Regions from separate parts of the Homo sapiens genome. Here all the other regions are linked to region 1. Evidence: promoter capture Hi-C in human tissues and cell types (Jung and others, 2019). All regions are on one chromosome and are shown on one strand. Each heading gives the region's core, a stretch centred on a gene start or on the middle of the fragment in contact. The rest is flanking DNA. Distances are from core to core; before and after follow the strand shown.

Region 1 (3,770 bases), core at 507-3,006:
AGCTGGCTTTTGGGCAGGAGTTGACAGGCTGATCCTAAATTCATACGGAAATGCAAAGGATCCAGAAAAGGCAAACCCACGTTGAGAGAAAGTCGAGGAGTGGTTGCCTAGAGTTAAAAGAAGGGAAGCAAGAAGGGGGAATTTGGAGTGACTGTTACTAGACATGGGTTTTCTTTTCAGGGTGATGAAAACCTTCTAAAATTAGATGGTGATGATGGTTGCTGACTCTGTAAATAAACTAAAATACATTAAACTATATGCTTTAAATGAAGCTACAGGGGCCTTGGGAGGGGGAGAAGGGATACACGTGGCACAGTGGTGTCCACTGCCTCCTTCCAGGATCTCACCGTCACCCAGGCTGGAGTGCAGTGGTGTTATCATAGCTCACTGCAGCCTCGACCTCCCCAGCTCAAGCAATCCTCCCAACTCAGCCTCCTGAGTAGCTGGGACTACAGGTGCATGCCACCATGCCTGGTTAATTTTTATTTTTATTTTTTTGTAGAGACAGAGTCTCACTATGTTGCCTAGGCTGGTCTCAAACTCCTGGGCTCAAATGATCCTCCCACATTGGTCTCCCAAAGTGCTGGGATTATAGGTGTGAGCCACTGTGCCCCGTCTCTTTTGTCTGGTGTGGGCCAGTATGCAAACACTCACCTTCTATATTTCGCTGGTTAGCCTTGACTTCATATGCAATAAGATCTGGAAAGGAAGATAAGAAGTAGCCCCTTTCTTCTTCCTCTGATCTCTTAATTTAAATTCGGCCAGGAAGTGAGCATCACAATTCGTTTTCCAAAGTCACAGGAGCCTGAGGTCCCCTGCCATCCCGCCCTCACACCTTATCTTGGTGTGTTAAACGCCCATACCTGGGGGAAGACTGTGGGTGGGGAACCTCCTGCCCCAGCCCGGGTGCCTGAATAATGCATGAATACTCCAGAAGCCTGGAACTCCAGACCTCATCCAGGCCTGGGATCAGCATCCTAAGTGACTGGTCCAATAAGCAGATGAGCCCTCACCTCTGCCTGTCCCGGGTGAAACGGAGCTTGAGAGCTCACTGGATCCCACCAAAATCACGTCCATGCTGGGCTCGGCCTCTGGGTCCAGGGCTGGGATGGCCGCCATGGGGATGCTGTGTCAGGACACACGGACACAGATGTGAGAAAGCCGTCAGCCCCTGCTCAGATCCCTGATGCACCCCAGCACGGGAAGCAGCTTGCTGAGCAGACCTTGACTAGTTCAGGCCACCTGAACCCCCGCGGTGACACCCACCTGCCCAACCCAGGGATGAGGGGCAGGACAGCCAAGGCCAGTGCCAGCCCTGAGAGGGGCTCAAGGGTCCCCTGAGGCGTGCCCCCCACCTGCCTGGCCCTGTTACAACATGGAAGATGGGGCAAAAAGGGGAGGGCAGGGCCCTCATGAGGACCTGGGGCCAATGGCCGCTGCAGCCCCTGCTTTCCTCTGGGCCCAGCCTTCGACCCCTCAGGGACTCCCATGCCCCAGCCTCCTACAGTGTCCCTCAGGCCCAGCAGGGACCCCTGGGGATGGTCTTGGCCAGCCGCACCCTTGAAGGCAGCATGGTCAGGGAGTAGGAAAGAGACTCACAGGGCTGCTGCCACGGCTCCGGGTACAGCCAGCTGGTGGGTTCAAGGTTCCAGTGGTCCGGGGCTTCCAGGCTCAGGGTCCCCGGGGAGGACTGGGCCATGGAACGAGGGACGGCGCAGGCAAAGAATGAGCTGGAAGGATCCAGGCCCACCTGGGACAGCGGGTGGCCAGAGGTCACCAGGCTATGGGGGCAAAGAATCTGGGCGTGTCCCGCGGGGGCGGGGAGGGGCGGGGGCGGGGCAGCCCTTCAGTGCCGGTTTGCAGTGGGAGGGGCGAGGAGCTGCGGGGGGTCACTTGGGGTGGGGAGCTAGGAAGCTGGGGGACGGGCAGGGAAAGGGAACCCTCAGGTGGGGAGGGTTAAGAGCTCAGTGGGGCTGGGGGATTGGGGTTCAGAGGATGGGGCCCTCAGGGTGGAGTGAGGGGTGGGGTTTGGGGACCTCAGTGGGGAGTGGGGTTCAGGGGAGGGGTGGAGATGGGAGGACTGGGGATGGGGCAGATGAGGGGGGTTTCAGTAGAGGGGGGCCCTTGGGGTGGGGTGGGGGATAGGGGTGGCTGTGGGGTAGGGGCAGGGCGCTCAGAGGTGGGGTTTAGGAAGGTCATAGGGGTGGGCTTCAGGGCAAGGGTGAAGAAAGGGATGAGGGTGGAGGGTGGAGGGGTGGAGGGGTGGAGGGTGGAGGGTGGAGGGTGGAGGTAGGGCAGGGCGGGGGGTTAGGTGGAGTTGGCCCCCTGGGTGGAGATGGGTGAGGATTAGTGGAGGTGGCCCTCAGGGCAGGGTGGGTGGGTGGAGGGCGGGGCTTAGGGAGATCTGTTGGGGGATTAGGGAGTGGGGGTGGGGGTGGATGCTGAGTTGGAGATGGGGGCCTTCAGGGGAGGTGGTCCTTTGGCGGGATGGGGGTGATGATAGGGTGAGGGTGGGCACTCCGGGGCAGGGCTCAGTGGCGGGGGTCGGGGCTCAGGGCAAGGGTAGAGACGGGGTGAAAGTAGGAATGGGGGTGTGAGGCCGAGGATGGGGGTTTCAGGGGAGGTGGCCTTTAGGGCAGGATAGGGGTGAGAATGGGGTGGGGATGGGCCTCAGGGATCTCAGGGTCGGTTGGGATGGGAGTGGGGGTGGGGGTAGATGGTGAGGAGGAGATGGGGGTGTTCAGGGGAGGTGGTCCTCTGGCGGGATAGAGGGAGGGGCGTTCAGGAGCCGGGCTTGGGAGCTCAGTCTGGAGCCCCAGGTTTGGGGGGCAGCTGTGGGGGAGAGAAGGAAACAGGGAAGGCCCTGGAGGATGGGGTAAGGGGTGTTGGGTGGGGAATGTCAGGGCAGGTGGGGGGTTGGGGAGCTGGGAGGGGTAGGTTCAGGGTGGGGGTGGAACGTGGAAGCAGGGAAGGGAGCAGGAAGGTGGGGTGGGCAGAGGGGCAGTGTGGGAGGTGCGGGGTGGGTTGGGAAGGGGGACTTTGTTGGAGGGAGGTTAGGGGCTTCAGAGCAGGGGGCGGAGGACCGCCGGGCAGGGCTGGAGCCACAGGACAATTGTGCTGGTCGAAAGTGGGAGAAGACCCTTGCGGGAGGTAACCCCCCTGAAGTGTGGGCTGGGCCTGGTGACTTCCTTCTGCAAGTACTGCATGAGGGGTGACCACACAGGGGCAGCCTGATGACCCCTTGGCCCCTGGCCCAGGCCAGCGTCTCGGGGAGGATTCGCCTGGGTGGGTGCCCCGCACCGGGGCTTTCTCCCCCCACCCACAGCCCAGCCTCTCCAGGAGTGAACTGGGTCGGAGCAGAGGCGGCCCAGTGCCTGAGCCCTCCTCACTGGGGCAGTCAGGCCGCCCAGCGGGAGAGTCTGAAAAACAGCGGGGCAGGGGGCGGGGGGACCCTGAGGCACTGCGACAATGAAGTGTCACATGGGATCCCGGGACAGAGAGGGGCGGTAGGGAGTGGGAAATCTGAATAAAATGTGGCTCCTTGGCTCTAAGTTGGTGTGTCTGCAGGTTTGTTCATGTAACCACAGTGTCCATGGGGGCCTGAGGGCTGGGTGGGGGTTGCGGCAGTTCTGGACTAGCGCCTCAAGGTTTGTATAACTTTAAAGCTGTTCTAACATAGTTACTTTTTTTAATGAAAAAAAGTGAAGGGAGAGAATACTGAGGATGACAGTGAGATCACTTCCCTGTGTTTGAGTAAAATGATCTTGTTT
Region 2 (3,796 bases), core at 356-2,855, 44 kb before region 1:
CACCTGTAATCCCAGCACTTTGGGAGGCCGAGGCGGGCAGATCACGATGTCAGGAGATCGACACCATCCTGGCTAACACGGTGAAACCCCGTCTCTACTAAAAATACAAAAAATTAGCCGGGCGCGGTGGCGGGCGCCTGTAGTCCCAGCTACTCAGGAGGCTGAGGCAGAAGAATGGTGTGAACCCGGGAGGCGGAGCTTGCAGTGAGCCGAGATCACGCCACTACACTCCAGCCGGGGTGACAGAGCGAGACTCCGTCTCAAAAAAAAAAAGAAAAGAAAGAAAAAAGAAAGAGCGTGAGCTTCATTCTCATGCTAGCAAGGGGGAGATTGGCCGGAATCCTTTCCAAAAATGGCCACTCTTCAATTTGTAGAGGGACGTGTAGAGGGGGTCTGGAATGCAGGCGAGGCAGGGGCCAGGAGGTGCCAGGTGACCTGCTCTGATGGCTTCTCTTGAGTTATTGTTCCATCTGTTACAGTAGGCAGCTGGTCAGACATGAGCAGGGCAGGAGAGGGCCCTCCCAACCAGGAATGTCAGGCGACCATCAGTGTTGGTCGGGTGGCTGTTAACTGTCTCTCTAAAATAATAATTGGTCACAGCCAACGCCAGGGAAAGGCAGCCTCCCAACAGACAGAAAAATCCTTCCCCATAAGACCTCAGGCATTGGGTGAGTGGGCTCAAGCATGTGTATTAAAAGGCAAAATTGTGGAGTGTAACTGGTCTATGGCCTCCTAGGGACATTTGACAGGTAAGGGAACAACGCCTCAGGTAAGCAGGCGCGCAACTCCAGTAAACACATAGCGCGTGCTCCTCCCAAGGGCTGGCAGCCACTGCACATGTGGACAGCCCACCCCAAGGGAAGAATCAGGGGAGAAGGCAGGCCAGACCCCGGAAGCGTGCCAACATATAAAACCCCAAGTCGAAGGTCAAACCACACACCTGTCCTTCAAGTCACCTGCTTGGCCCCCTTCCAAGCGTCCTTTCCTTCCTTTCATTCCTGCTCTAAAGCTTTTTAATAAATGTCACTCCTGCTCTAAAACTTGTCTCGGTCTCTTCTTCTGCCTTCTGCCCCTTGGTCGAATTCTTTCTTCTGAGGAGGTGAGAATTGCGGCTGCCGCAGACCTGTACGGATTTGCCACCGATCACAGGTTTTGGTGCCGTGTCACTTGGATAACTTCCACCACAAACACATCTGGTGAAGGGGCTGCGCCATCGCGGGTCGCCCCCAGATTAGAAATCAATCACAGTCAATCTTGCAGTGAGTCTTTAGCCAGGAGTAAGCTCTGGCCTCAAAGTAACCCGCCTGCTGGGGAAGGAATTCTGGAGATGCCTGGTTCGTCCCAGGATCTGGCCCCCAAAGCTTCTAGGAAATAGATGACCAGACAGGTGAGCATGGTGTGCACTCAGCAAGCATCCAGATAAACAAATGTGCACAGGGCCCGGGAGCTGCAGGTGGGAGAGGGAAGGCAGTAGGCTCACAGCTTGCTCCCAGGCTGGATTTCAAGATGAAAGGAAGCACATCTGTAGTTTGCTCAAAGCCATGTCTTGAGACTGGGGAGAAAGGAGGAAAGAAAGGCCGTGTTAAAACACAGTTCGAAGCTGAGCTGCTCGGTGACATAACGAGGCCTGTGCGACCACCCAGGAGGAGGTTTTTCAGGCTTCTCTGGGGTGGACATGGCCAAGCGGGGGTCACTTCAGTTGGCTGGGGACTTCGGGTTTTATTTTTGGTTTACACTGGCCTGGGATGGAACTGGGCAGTTCTAATGTGACTGGGTGTGTACTGGTGGCTTCACTCACCCAGGGCAGGCAGGCACCTGGAACCACGACTCAGAAAGAGGCAGGAAGGTGGAGTGAGAAGATGGAGCTATTAGGGGCGTGGCAGGGGCAGGTCAATCACCCTGAGGCTTCGGGGAGTTTCCTGGTCTCCAGAAGGGCAGTGTGCTCACCCTCCCCTGTGCATGGTGTTGTTAAGAGTGTTATCAGGAGTGTCTGCTGAGCTGTGACTTTGCCGTGCCATGCAAATACTCACAGGCAGCACTACTGTCAGGAAGATGGAGGCTGGGCCGGGAGGCTTGCTTTCAAGGCCACGAGTGTCAAACCCACAAACCGCAGAGCAGAACAGCCTTGGCCAAGCAGATGAGGAGGGCCTCATCCTCCATCTCCCGCCACCATCCTCTTCCCAACTGAAGTCAGAGGCGGGGAGGTGGGAAGTCCTGTCAGAGGCAGGGAGGTGGGACGCCCTGGGCCAGACAGATGATCCAAAGCCCTTGGTTTTAGGTACCATCTCTTCGATGTTTCTTGGCTGAGTAAACCAGCCCAATCTCTTTTTTATAAAATGAGACCACAGGTTGGCCTGAGAATGGAGAGGAGTGAGGAATCTAGCTGTTCTGGGGCCCCGGGCTGTTCAGAATCCATTGTAAACCATTGGAAAGCAGGTTTGTGTATTTGTTTAACTGCATCTTGTGGCTGGTCATTGTCTCTGTCTAAGCTCTCACCCAGCCCGGCTGCCTTCCCTGAGTCCCCACCTGACCTGCACAACTGCTGAGGACGAAAGCCTGTGTCCCCGACATGCACGGGAGAGCAGTGTCTTCCCAGGCCCTAGAGTGCCTGGCTGTGTGGGCAGCCCCAGGGCACAGTCTTCTAAAGAACCTCATTGAGGGTCGGGGGTCGGGGGAGTGGGCTCCAGGGTCCACTCCCAACCTTACAGCTTTTACCTCCGGAATCCCCAGGCTTCTGTCAGGAGGGTGCCTGAGTGGCTTACAACAAGAACTTTGCCTATCCCTTTACTGTTCGCAAAACACCATCTCAAAAATCAGTCAACATGGATTCCAAGTTTTGCCTTAGGCCACACTGGATGGAGTTGCCCCCGGCTGGAAGACAGGACCTTTATCCCCAGTGCCACAGGAGGATTCCCCTGTGTGGCCTCCCCACCGGCTGTGCCCTAAGATCAGTGCTGTGTGCACAGCCCAGCAGAGGAGCCCAGGAGACTCCAGCAGGCAGGGAGCTGCTGCCCCAGGAGCACATTCCAGCATCTGGAAACACCTCCCACTGCAGCTGCAGGGGAAGTGCCTGGAAGAGAAGGAAAAGAAAGAGGAGGAGGAGGAAGAGGAGGAGGAGGAGGAAGAGGAGGAGGAGGAGGAGGAAGAGGAGGAGGGTCGTGCCCACGCTCATGGCAAGCGTCACCCTGGAGCTTTCTGTCTCAGTCCAAGCACATCCACCTGCCCTTCCTCACTGCATTCTCCCAGGGGCCCCTGGCTGCACACAGGCATGGCCTGCATTTGCATAGAGGGTCTGGGCCCTTGGTGGAGGGCCTGGCCTGCCCCATCTTGGGTCCTGGCCCAGTGTTGTGGCTGCCAACCTGCCCTCAGAGCTTCACGGGAACCAAGGGCTCAGGCTCTGAGTGGAGTCCGGGTGGGCCTGGGCAGCCTTTGCCGGAGAGGCTCCTTCCTGACATGGCTCTGCTGGAGGAGAAAGTGTCAGTTCCTCTCTCAGGCCCTGTAGACAGGTGTCCAGGTAGACAGGAAGTTCCAGAGGTGATTTTAGCTCAGTCTGTTACTTTTCTGCTGGCAGGCTGGCTTTACTGTGGTTGTCCCTGTGGCCGTTGGCTGATGTTGCTGAAATTCCAGGGCTCTGGAGTGTCCACATGTCCACGGGATGGGAAGCCTGTTGCAGACCAGCCACCATGTCCCTGCGGCTCAGGACCACGCTCCTGAAGCCCAGAGTCCTGCCCTGGGAGCAGGTCTCAGTCAGGACTGACTCCTGAGAAGAATGAGAGGGGAAGTGCCTCCAGGCCGG
Region 3 (3,814 bases), core at 637-3,136, 63 kb before region 1:
GGAGCAGGTGGGGTCATCCTGCCCTGAAGCACCGATGAGCTGATCCCGGTCATGCAGAGTGGGTGGGGACCTCTTGGCTGGGCCTGTTCATGTAGCACACACGGCTTTGCTGCCCATAGAATCCAGGGCCCCCAGTGTGAGCACCACTCTCCATCCCTGAGGCCGAGCCTTACCCTGGAGGCAGCCTCAGGTGAGATGCCCCTAATGGAGCCACCTGGCAATGGACCGCTCTCAGGTCCTTCAGCTCGGTGCACTCACCCGGGAGCCCTGCGTTCTGTCCTGGGGTAGAGGCTCAGGGTTGGTTTGAAGCCATATAGTCAGCTCCCAGAGTCACAGAAACGTCCAAGGAAGAAAACTGTCCGATTACAGACTTTTAAAATTCATTCATAGTTTAATCAAGAGAACTTGCTGTTCCTTCCTCAAATTTCCTAGAATTGGTCTTCTCATAATCACCACCTAGGGCACAGCTGTGGCCGAGGCTCCCATGATGAAGCGTCTGTGTCAGCGCTGACGAGGTCTGCCGAGGACGCGTTTCTCTCTGCAGCCCGGCACCAGTCTCAAGGCCATCGGCTCCGACAGCGTCACCTCCTGGGACCTTCCCTTCATGTATGGTCCCAGCGGCATGCGGGCCTGGTGGAGGAGGTCCTGGCCTGCCGCCCAGGGATGGCCGGTCCAGGCGCAGGGCCGATTGTCCACTTCTGGCCCCTGAGGTACCGGGAGGGCTGGTGAGCAGCATGTCTCGCTCTGAGACCGGCCAGGCTGCTGGGGCAGGCATCTGATGTACAGTAGTTCCCACACGTGGCAATGTCACCAGCAAGAGCCACGTATGATAAATTCAGGCCGTCCACCGTGGCAACACTGGGAAGGCTGATTCTGTAGGAAAGGATTGGCCTTGGGCCATCACTGTTCAAAGAAGAAGAAATCCCTGGATCACTGTCTGATCCAACTCCAGACAGACACTCCACACAGGATTCCTCCTGGGGATCACGGCTCTTCTCTTGGCGGAGAAGAAGGAGGGAGAATGAGCCCATGTCGGGGGCCTCTAGGCAGCCCGCCACAGCCCTACAACTCAAAGAAAACTCACCAGTCCCTGGTCACTCGGATGTCCTTGGAGGCGCTTGGATTTACTGCAGGGACCCCAAGAGTCGGCCACGGCAGAGCCCCGTCTGCCAGCCCACCGAGGACTCGGGGAGGGGAGGGAGCACTGCAGCAGAACGGAAAATGGGTCCACGCTCAGCTTCTTGGTTTATCATTTTAGACTTTATGCGTTGGCTTCCTGCGACAAATGGTTACATTTTAACCCTTTTACAACCACATTTCCTCCCCCAATCCTCTCAATGTCATGATTTTTCTTTTTTCTTTTTTCTTTTTTTTTTTTTTTTGAGACGGAGTCTCGCTCTGTCGCCCAGGCTGGAGTGCAGTGGCACAACCTCGGCTCACTGCAAGCTCCGCCTCCCGGGTTCACACCATTCTCCCGCCTCAGCCTCCCGAGTAGCTGGGACTACAGGCGCCCGCCACCATGCCCGGCTAATTTTTTCATATTTTTAGTAGAGATGGGGTTTCACCCTGTTAGCCAGGATAGTCTCGATCTCCTGACCTCGTGATCCGCCTGCCTCAGCCTCCCAAAGTGCTGGGATTACAGGTGTGAGCCACCATGCCCGGCCATGATTTTTCTTTTGGAAATGGAGTCTCACTCTGTCGCCCATGCTGGAGTGCAATGGCACAGTCTCAGCCTCGCCGCGCCCTCTGCTTCCTGGCTTCAAGCAATTCCCTTGCCTCAGCCTCCTATGTAGCTGGGATTACAGATGCGCGCCACCATGCCCAGCTAATTTTTGTATTTTTGGTAGAGACGGGGTTTCACCATGTTGGCCAGGCTGGTCTCGAACTCCTGTCCTCAAGTGATCCACCCACCTTGGCCTCCCAAAGTGCTGCGATTACAGGCATGAGCCCCACGCCCTGCCTCCTTGTCATGGCTTTTACTCCACAGTGTGTATGCCGTTGAAATTGAATAAATATGGATTACAACAGAGACCACTGTTGTGCTATGATTACATTTGTCAACTTAGATAACAGAGAGGCTCTGTGAAAGAAAACGACATTTATTCAAAAATAGGGCGTTGCAGTCGGAACACACGTGCGGTGGTAGACTGTGTGTGTTCAGGGAGGTAAAGGGAGAAAAAGGCTTTTAAAGGGAAAACGAGGATCACACCGTTGTTTTGAGGCGATTCCCCTTGTCTACAAGCATCAGCGGCGGGGGGTGCCAGTCCAGGGTTGGACCGCAGTTGCTGGGCAGATGTCCTCACAGTATTTTCTGTCCATGGTTGCAGTGGACTTCATACAGCGTTGTGGTTTCTCAGTATTTTGTGATAGTAATACAAGAGTTATTAAGAAATAATTTTTATGCCGGGTGCGGTGGCGCACGCCTGTAATCCCAGCACTTTGGGAGGCCAAGGCAGGCAGATCACCTGAGATCAGGAGTTCGAGACCAGCCTGGCCAACATGGTGAAACCCCATCTCTACTAAAAATACAAAAATTAGCCGGGCGTGGTGGCGGGTGCCTGTAATCCCAGCTACTCCGGAAGCTGAGGCAGGAGAATCGCTTGAACCCGGGAGGCGGAGGTTGCAGTGAGTCAAGATCACGCCATTGCACTCCAGCCTGGGGGACAAGAGTGAGACTGTGTCTTTAAAAAAAAGAAAAAAAAGAAATAATTTTTAGGCAGCTGGATAGGGTAAAGGTTCTAGGTGGAAACTAACAGAAAGGCGGCTTAAAGAGCCAGACCAGCAAGCTTTGATATGCAAACGCCGGCAAATAGACACTGGGTCTACCCAACATGGCGATTCCCACATCTTCTTGTCGACAGGTGTGCCAGGTGTCATGGCCGCCCCCACATAACACCATGTGTTCAAAACGTCATGGCAACCCACATTTGCATATTAAAGGACTAAGGTGGGAGGGCCAGGTTTCTCATGGACTACGTGAATGATACACCCGGTCAAACCAATTCCCTGCCCCCTATGCAAACCAGACACCGCCTCCTCCAGCCTCCCGCTATCGTGGAATGCCCTTCTGCGGCATGCGGGGCCTCTTTGCTCTGAGCCCCACTGCGTCTCTGTATAGGGGAGCTGTTTTATTCTTTATTCCTTCTTCCTTGCCTATTAAACTTTCTGCTCCTTAAAACCACTCCACATGTGTCCATGTCGTTTTATCTAAATCGGCGGAGGACCAAGGACCGTGATGTTCCTCCAGTCATTGGAGCCGTATCAATAGCTCTTGCTATCAGTAATTCATGCAGGAGAACCCTCCCTTTATGGCCTCCCCCAGCGCTATTTGTCAGAGTATATGTCGCCCGGGCTGGAGTGCAGTGGCATGATCTCAGCTCATTGCATCCTCTGCCTCCCAGATTCAAGGGACTCTTCTGCCCCAGCCGCCCGAGTAGCCAGGACTACAGGTGCCACCATGCCCGGCTAATTTTTGTATTTTTAGTAGATACGGTGTTTCACCATATTGGCCAGGCTGGTCTCAAACTCCTGACCTCATGATCCACCCACCTCGGCCTCCCAAAGCGCTGGTATTACAGGCGTGAGCCACTGCGCCCAGCCTATTTGTCAGAGGCTTTTTTTTTTTTTTTTAACAGAAGTGACTCCATTTTAATTCTGATAACTTTCTCATTGTCCCCTTTTTACCAAGGTCTTTCTTTGAAAGAATCACTGATCAATTATTCTATTGTTAGGTTTTGATTGTCCCTTGTTGGTGCTGGGATGTGGTGTCCTGCGGTTGCTGGTCTTGTCCCACAGTGGAGGGAAGTGATTAGCA

Evidence for each region. The method cuts DNA at HindIII sites, captures the fragments that hold promoters and counts their contacts. A contact is called where the count stands out against the background at its distance.
Region 2: a contact is called between a fragment that was not itself captured here and the fragment with the promoter of DNMT3L in region 1, in 6 of the 25 tissues and cell types used here (H1 embryonic stem cells, IMR-90 fibroblasts, dorsolateral prefrontal cortex and 3 more).
Region 3: a contact is called between a fragment that was not itself captured here and the fragment with the promoter of DNMT3L in region 1, in 3 of the 25 tissues and cell types used here (dorsolateral prefrontal cortex, hippocampus and mesenchymal stem cells).

The regions. Positions count from the first base shown.
Region 1 is chr21:44,260,141-44,263,910 of GRCh38, forward strand. It overlaps DNMT3L (DNA methyltransferase 3 like), which reads right to left and starts at 1,757. Exons shown (of 12, transcript NM_175867.3): 1 at 1,600-1,757; 2 at 1,014-1,126; 3 at 655-699. The coding sequence starts at 1,119. RefSeq lists an enhancer at 1,472-2,031. The HindIII fragment of the contact is 12,940 bases long and covers 1-3,770 here.
Region 2 is chr21:44,216,693-44,220,488 of GRCh38, forward strand. It overlaps a transcript of ICOSLG not described here. Among named protein-coding and RNA genes, the nearest start is that of ICOSLG, 22 kb to the right of the region's middle. The HindIII fragment of the contact is 6,285 bases long and covers 1-3,796 here.
Region 3 is chr21:44,196,711-44,200,524 of GRCh38, forward strand. No RefSeq gene overlaps it. Among named protein-coding and RNA genes, the nearest start is that of LINC01678, 39 kb to the left of the region's middle. RefSeq lists a silencer at 353-531. The HindIII fragment of the contact is 3,712 bases long and covers 31-3,742 here.